Linked DNA regions of Homo sapiens: regions 2 and 3 are each linked to region 1. The links are contacts of gene promoters, found by promoter capture Hi-C in blood cells and fetal thymus (Javierre and others, 2016). All regions are on one chromosome and are shown on one strand. The core of a region is centred on a gene start or on the middle of the fragment in contact, and the rest is flanking DNA. Distances in the headings are between cores, read along the strand shown.

Region 1 (2,790 bases), core at 175-2,674:
GTGAACATAATGGCTGTAGCTCAAGCAGTTATTTTGAACCATGAAGTTACATGCTAAGAATTGTGAAGAAACAGAAGGGCAGGATCCAGAGACACTGGTGACCAAGGAGCCTCCAGACCAGTTCTGGATTACCTATTTCTAGTTTTCTTTCTGTAAGAGAGAAACTTCTATCTTGTTGAAGCTATTAATGTTTGCTTGTTGTATACAGCTGAACTTAATCCTAACAACAGACACATCCACTAACAGATATGAGCTCCTGGGACTCAACACTTCAAACCCCAGCTTGATGGTTGGATATCCCTCTTAGCAGAAGAAAAGGAAAGTCACTACTTCCCAAAGTTGCTTAAAGAGGCCAGTTTCCATTCCTTCTGACCACCATCCGCTTGGCTTTTGTGCTCGTTGAAGCAGCTCTACAGGGAGGCCCTTGGCTGACAAACTCCCAGTCTGCGGGCCCAGCAGGCCACAACAATGGTGGCTCGCACTAGGGGACCATAACATATGTGGCGTCATAAAAGAGGAGGGATGGGAGTGGGGAGGCTGATGTGACCCAGCTCTGACGGGTCAGTGAGCAGGAACAGAATGCTACGAGGTGGGCGCTGGTCACTGCAAATTTAAGTCAATACAGACAGGGAGGAAATAAGGCAACCTCTCTCTTTAGGTTGGGGTTTTTCTGCTTCCCCCTAGCTGCCCTGGCCAGATGGCGGCCTCCTCCCCTATAACCCAACCCCAGGCGGCAAAGGTGGAAGCCAGATCTAAGAACTGGGGGAGCTTAGACTCAGCACCCACCCCTATCCACAGCCTTGCAGAACTTGGATGACCCCTCCCTCTCCCAGCCTCACTCTCCCCATCTGTAAAGCGGGCGGCAGGCATTGACAGCTCTTTGGGCCTTTCCTCCAGGCCGGCGGAGGCCTGGGCACTGCGCTCCCCATCCTGGCCTCGCCTCTGCAAGAGCTGCCTCCACGGACATCTTTTCCGACCCCCTCCCCCTCCCTCGCCCCCTCTCCTCGTTCCCCCGATCCTCGGTCCCCCACCCCCGGTCTCCCCTCCCGCAACCCCTCGCCCTCCCGCAGCCTCACCCTCCTCCGACAGGTAGCGCAGGTCGTAGAACTCCCCCGCGAAGGTGCCGTAGGAGGAGTCGTGGCGCGGCACCGCCTCGTCGGCGCCCGTGTCCCCCCGCGCGCGTCCCCGGGGTCCCCGGCCCCCCGGGCCCGCACCGTCGTCCGCGGGGCTGGCTGCGCAGGCGGCGGGCCCCGTCAGTAGCAGCAGGAGCAGCGACGCCCAGACCCCCGGGTGCTGCCGGGGCGGCCGCGCCATCCGTGCGCACAGATCCCGCAGCCAGGCCGCTCGGGCCGCAGCGGGGGCGCCGCGGGCGCGGGCCGGGACTGAGCCTCCGCCGAGGCCACCAGCACGCGCCCGCGCAGCCGCGGAGCCTCCCGCACCCCCGCCTCCCTGCCTCGGTCTGCGCATCCTCGCTCCAGCACCGCAGCCTCCCCCTTCTTCTTGGAACCCCCCTCCTCCCCGCACCGATCTCTCCTTCCTAGCAGCTTCCCTTCTACCGTCCTTCTTTCCATTCTCCCCATCTCCCCGACTTCCCTCCACGCAGGCAGATTTGGCCCTTCTGGCCCCTTGCTACTCCGGAGTGTGGTCCGCGGACCGGCAGCATCAGCATCACCTGGAAGCTTGTTAGCATCGCTGAGGCCCCACTCCAGACCCATGAAGCGGGATGTTCATTTCATCAAAATTCCCAGGAGATCCCAATGCACGTTCAATTTATGAAACGCTCCTCTAGAGAGTTTACCCTGGACACACCTGGTCAGTGCTGCCTCCTCAACCTTGTGCCGGCACTTTTTGGTTTACATAAAGCACTTGCTAGACCTATTATTTCTTGGATCATCACAGAAGGAACTTGAAATTGCAAGACCCCCACAATAGAGCTAGGTAAACTGAGGTGTTTAGAGACAGAGAAAACTGGATTCACCTGCTTCCTCTCCAGGCTCTTGCGGTGTGTAATCAACAGAGGCTGGTGCCAGTAGGTAACCTGTTCCCCTTCAAAACTAGGCTTCTGGTTTACTCTCTTTCCCTGCAGCAAGCACGCGCAGGCCTTGGAAGGCCCACACCGTATCTGAGGGCCATGCTGAATTGTTGATTTTTCTCAAATCCATTCCTGCTGCTTGCAGTTCACTTTTGGCTATTTACTCAGCCATCCATTGATTCACACCAAGCATTTGCTTTATGGCAGGTCCCAGGGTTCTCTTTTGATGATGGTTGTTGGGGTGATATATTCGAATTGCTAAGCTGTTTTCCATCAGAGAGGCGGACGCAATTCCTTTCAGGCTGGTGTTGCAGAGCCAGCATTTTAACCTGCTTTTCCTATTTTATTATTTTATTTTATTGCATAAACAAAATAATTATGGAGGCAGAAAAGCATAGAGGTCCCAAATGCAGACCTAGAAGTCAGACTGCCTGATCTCTCATGATTAGTCATTGACATGATGCAATGAAGATTAGGGAAGATCATAGAGGTAAGGATCAATAGGGTTCAGTGCTGTAAGTGGCATGCACACATGTACACAATATTGTGAAATGTTAATATTCAAAAGGAAACTAGTGATCTTAACCCTTTATGGCCTGATTGGCTGAGAGATAAGGGTAGTGCTGTTGAAACAGGGGAGACATGATGGGGGACTTAGAAGTCAGGTATTTTCTATTAGGTATCAGCTAACAGTGGGCTGTCCAACTGGAATTTAAACATATTAATCCTGATGGCTGAATTGAGGTGTAATTCATGAA
Region 2 (2,700 bases), core at 92-2,591, 68 kb before region 1:
TCCAACTTGCTAATGGCACTAAAATATGCAGTAAATATGCAGTAAAGCTTAGCTACATCAATGGAAACTGCACTATTTTTCTAGTTAATACACAAATGACTCAGCACATTTTTCGAGCACCTCAGACTTCACAAAAGCATGAAAGGAGTAGCACACAGAGAAAATAAACAAAGTATTTGAAAATTATGAATATAAGATTTGGCAAACTGCTTTTATCCAACAGATCTGTATTTTAATGACTTCTGTCTCAATGATACCCTTCAGCACCTCAAAAACCACAAGGAATTGGCCTGGAATCAGAGTCCAAAAAAAAAAACAAAAAACAACAGTCCAGGCAGGGAGATGATAAACTGAACAGAACAATGCCAGGACTGAGAATCTTGGCCAAGTTGTGGTATTAGAATGGTATTGTATTTAAAAGCCACAGCTAAAAATAGGCACATAAACAAGGGAACATAATCTTGGGACTCAAGGACTAAAGAAAAAAAAGGAAAGAACATCCAAGGTTTCAGGTATCAATCTACCCAGAGACAGGGCCAGCATTAAGCAGAAGCCAAATAACAGGGATCTACACAAATCCAAACAAGCATGCTACTGACATTAGCAGCCTAGCACCAGGGGGCAGAAACTCAGAGTCCGGCACACAAGAAAGAGACCACAGGTCAGACAGTGTCTGTTAATACAACAACTCAACGATGAGCAGACTAACTTTTTTAATAAGCATGGGTAAATATACTTTAAATCCAGTCTAAATAAGGAGATACTTCTTGATCCACTCCATTCTTTTTCACAGGGATAGCAGCAGTTACCAGAAATACATCCAAACATGCTTATTGGAAGCAGGCACCGCATACCAAATAACACCTCCCCAGCCTGCAAAGTTCCCTTTGAAGAAGGCTTCTGTTTCCATTACTAATGTGGAAAATACAACTCCCTCTCAATGGCTTCTAGTATCACGTCACAAGGGCCTGGAGATGGACCAGTAGACTTTTCTCTAGGCCTGTTTAACTTGCAGTATCAGAAGTGGGGACTGGGAGGGGAGCAGTAAAACATTTGGTTTGCTCCCTTTTTCCAATTTGGGCTTGACTGAACCAAACTTGTTCACTCATATCTCATGCTATCCCAAAACAAGTAAGGCAACTATCAGGATTCATCTCTGCAAAGACATTTCTAGTCATTTACAAACAATTACCAATGCCAGGAGGAACAGCACTCAGCTGTACTTGCTGGTACTTCTCAGGCTGGGTATCCAGGCTATTATAGATATATCTGATGATTGTTTCACTAACTTTTGAAGAAATTTCTTATACTCAGAGAAAATGGCTCTCTGAGCCTAAGTTTCTTCATTTGTAAAATAAGCATAACACCAATCTCACTAGACTGCTTAAAAAAAACTAAGAGTATTTTTAAAGAGTCTAACACAGCCTTACTTATAGGAGATAACAATGCTAGTGTACCTCTTTCCTCAGACGCCAAGGGAACATACTGAACGTGGATTCCAGGTGCTATGGTTTGAGTGTTTGTGCTCCAAAACTTATGTTAAATTTAATTGCCGTTACCACAGTATTAACAGGTGGGACCTTTAAGAGGTGATTAGGCCATCAGGGCTCAGCCCTCATGGGTAGGATTAATGTCATTATAAAAGGGTGAGTTCAGCCCCAGCCATCTCTTGCTCGCCCTTGTACCACGTGATGATACAGCAAGAAGATCCTCACCAGATGCCAGCACCTTGACATTGGCCTTCTCAGCCTCCAGAACTGTGAGCCAATAAATTTCTGTTCATTGTAAGTTTCCAAGTCTGTGTTACTCTGTCACAGCAGGACAAAACAGACTAAGCCATAAGGTTTCTACTAAGTAAGGTTTCTGGGATCTAGGAGGCAAGGAAGCTAGGTCATGTAGTTGTGTTAAGTCAACAGGACCAATATGGAAAACTGAAGGAGCTGACAACTACAACTGATGCAAGAAGGATGAGTACTCAATACTTTTTCAGGATGACTGACACTTACTCAAAGAGCCTGGGGAGGGGAAAGAACGCTGGGCTTAGGGTCAAGAACCTATGTTTATTTATTTATTATCATTATTATTACTTTTAAGACAGGGTCTCACCTCTGTAGCCCAGGCTGGAGTACAGTGGCATGATTACTACTCACTGCAGCCTTGACCTCCTGGGCTCAAACAATCCTCCATCTTCAACCCTCCCAGTAGCTGGGACTATAGATGCACACTACCACACCCAGCTAATTTTTATTTTATTTTATTTTTATGTATTTATTTATTTTCTGTAGAGACAGGGTCTCACTATCTTGACCAGGCAAGGTTAGTCTTGAACTCCTGGGCTCAAGCAATCCTCCCGCCTTGGCCTCATAAAATGCTGGAATTATAGCATGAGCCATTATGCCTGGCCAAGGACCTAAGTTTAAATCTTAGCTCCACTAGTCACCTGTGTGACTGCAGGCTAGTCAGTTAATCTCTAGAAGTATCTTCATCTGTAAATGAAGATACCATCTATCTTACAAAGATTTATTTGTTTGAGTTCTGTTTTGTTTGCTTGTGGATTTAAAAAGATAGCACATTTAAAAGCACTTGAAAGTTCTTGGCTCATGACAGGCACTTAAATATTTTTCCCTTATTATCTTAAGCTTTTGGGAAATACTATGTTAGAACTTCTCAGGTCTAAGAGAAAACCACTGAGTAAGACCC
Region 3 (2,754 bases), core at 195-2,694, 86 kb before region 1:
TTTTTAGAAGCAAATAAGATAGCTTGAGGGTGTACTGAAGCTGAGACTAAGAATAGGACTTCCAAGCAGAGATGCCACTGAAGAAATAGTGCAGTTCTTTAGCAAATTGGTTAATTAGATTATCAATTATAGTTACCAACATGTCTCTATGGGAACTAAAGGAATAAAAAAAATTTTGTATCCATGATTTCACATAAGCTTCACCAACTCCTTGAAAAGAACATACCAAAATCTGGGTTGTGGAGTTCAATACGGTTCAGATAAAATAAAGATTAAAATGTACCATAAAAGTGGGGGGGAAATCTTGTCAGACTTGATAAGCCTAAAAAAAATAGTAAGAGATATCACTATAAAGATAACATTTTAGGTGTTCTTTAGAGAATAATTTTCTTTGATGAGATGAAAATGGGGAAAGGAAATGTAAGCTGGAAGGACCTGGAAAGCGAGAAATAAAGGTGCTATGGTATATATCAGCAGAAGGATCAATGAGACAAGGATGGAAGGTGGTAATCAGCAAATTCTGATCTAGTGAAGAATACTAACTAGATTAGAATTCATAAGACCAGATCCTAATTCTCCTATTAAACTAAAAAAAACAAGCGCCACTTGTTCTTCATTATCTCATTTTTTTCATTTGTATTTACTCCCAAGGGTTTCGATAAAATAAAAATGCATGTAAAAGAGGTCTGAAAAGAAAATATACTAGGCAAATTCATGGCAAAATTAGTAATATACAAATCATAAATCCTTTAGCTATTGTACATACTTTTAAATCAAGTTAACATTTTCCATGCCCCTTCTGCTAGCTTTTAATCCAGACTACAATTCTAACAATTAAGGGTTTATTAATGAGAATAATAATCACTGTACTCTACCTTTGCAGTCAGGAGTAGGGCTAAAAGAAGAGTTCCTATCACTAACAAAAATATGATGAAAATGCTAATTATTTTATCTAACATCTTCTCCAACCAGATGATCATCTGCACAAAAACGAAAAAGAGAATTACTTATCTTTAAAGTAGAACTTTAAAAATACATATACTCAATTGTCATAAAGACAAAACAGGATCTCCAGCATGGCAAAGCAAATTATGGCATAATAATTAAAGCAATAAAAGCTTTAAGCAACTTTAAAAACTTCACAGTACTCATTACTGCTGTTGTTATATAGTTTATTACTGTCATAGCTAAGAAAAAGGCAGTCGATTTCAACATAATCCATATCTATGTTCAAATTCTCAAACTATAGGATATCTATGTTTCAAATTGTAATTTATAACCTGGTAAGTATTCTAAACAAAATATTGACAATCCATTAGCTGACCTAAAATCTTATGAAGCTGTATCATCAGTTTAACAAATACACACGACTTTAGCAAAAGTATATACAGATAGTATTTATAATACTTATAATACAGGCATGGACTAAAAAATACAGATAAAATTGGAGCAAATTAAAAGAGGAGTTGCATTCAAAATATTTTTTCCATTTGATATCATTAGAATTACAAAAGCAGTAATAAAAAAATCTAATGTTAAGGCAATGACAAATAACAAAGATAACAGTTGCCCAAGGAGCGAGGGGTTGGGAGGTGAATGCACAATCAAGGAGGGGCACAAAACAGCCTTCAGGTTAATTTGTTTTATTAAGGGGGGAGTCATTGGTAGATAGTCTTTACATCTTTTTATGTTTGAAATATTTCATAATACATAATAAAATGCTTTTTAAAATCTGATATTCTACTTGAAGTTTCTATTCTTCTGAAAACATAAGCTTTATGACATGACTATAATTGATATAATCAATGTAGTAGCTGTTTCTTAATCAGTTATTAAAACTGTGCTTTCCCTAAATGCTATCTGACATTATCTTGCTATAACTTCCTTCATCTTTCACAACCACAAATAATCCTACATTTTAAACAACTTGTGTTTTCAGAATATATACTTGATAGATTGCTAGAATTCCTTTCATGCAAAGCTACCATCTAACATTTCAAAACTACATTTAACTAGATTAATAACTGCTGAAACACCACAATGCACTGCTCAACCCCAAGGTGAGCAACAGCATTGCTAAATAAGTTATTCTTAATTTAGATCTGATTTATGCTCTCCAGTGAATTAAACATCCAAAAGCAAAGAATGTTGGTTAAAAAAACAACATGAGTTCTGCAGCATTTACTTTCACTTGACGTTTATAAGCTTGTGCCCCCCTTATCTGTTTTTCATCAAGGGCACTGTCACTAAGAGATCAATGCTAAAGTGAACTCAAAGATAAAAAGTTAATCTTTAATCTTGACAATTACAGCTTCAAACAGAAGAGTTAATTTTCAGTGCATGCTACCAAGGCATCAAAGACAATGCAGAGACTTAAAAAAAAGGAATAACAGGTTTCTAAGATATGGAAGGTCAGATGTCATATTCTGAAGTTAAATTCTAAAATCAATGAAACTGAAAACTTTCAATCAGAAACCAATTGAAAACTAGTTATCAAGGCAGCTTCCTGGGGAAAGAGCTAGGTTTGTATCACTCCTCTTTGTATCTCCAAAATCTAAGTGCTTAGCACGTGGTAAGCATTCAATTACTATGTGTTTGAATAAGCAAGCATAAATAAAATAATTTCAGAATTAAGACTGTATTTGTATCCACAAATTACAATTTCTGAAAATAATGTAGAGCCTCTATTTTTTTTTTTTCAGAAAAGTCATATCCTGAAATGTATTTTTAAATGTAAATGATATTCTACTTAGA

Evidence for each region. Contacts are between HindIII fragments. The CHiCAGO score rates a contact against its expected background, and 5 or more counts as called.
Region 2: a fragment that was not itself captured here is called in contact with the fragment with the promoter of FRRS1L in region 1 in 1 of 17 cell types (erythroblasts); the score reaches 9.0 in erythroblasts.
Region 3: a fragment that was not itself captured here is called in contact with the fragment with the promoter of FRRS1L in region 1 in 1 of 17 cell types (erythroblasts); the score reaches 5.5 in erythroblasts.

The regions. Positions count from the first base shown.
Region 1 is chr9:109,165,825-109,168,614 of GRCh38, forward strand. It overlaps FRRS1L (ferric chelate reductase 1 like), which reads right to left and starts at 1,425. Exons shown (of 5, transcript NM_014334.4): 1 at 1,077-1,425. The coding sequence starts at 1,314. The HindIII fragment of the contact is 4,411 bases long and covers 1-1,677 here.
Region 2 is chr9:109,098,250-109,100,949 of GRCh38, forward strand. The region is part of intron 3 of TMEM245 (transmembrane protein 245); the gene reads right to left. Among named protein-coding and RNA genes, the nearest start is that of TMEM245, 20 kb to the right of the region's middle. The HindIII fragment of the contact is 2,592 bases long and covers 46-2,637 here.
Region 3 is chr9:109,079,964-109,082,717 of GRCh38, forward strand. TMEM245 (transmembrane protein 245) reads right to left here. Exons shown (of 18, transcript NM_032012.4): 8 at 876-980. Among named protein-coding and RNA genes, the nearest start is that of MIR32, 35 kb to the left of the region's middle. The HindIII fragment of the contact is 656 bases long and covers 1,117-1,772 here.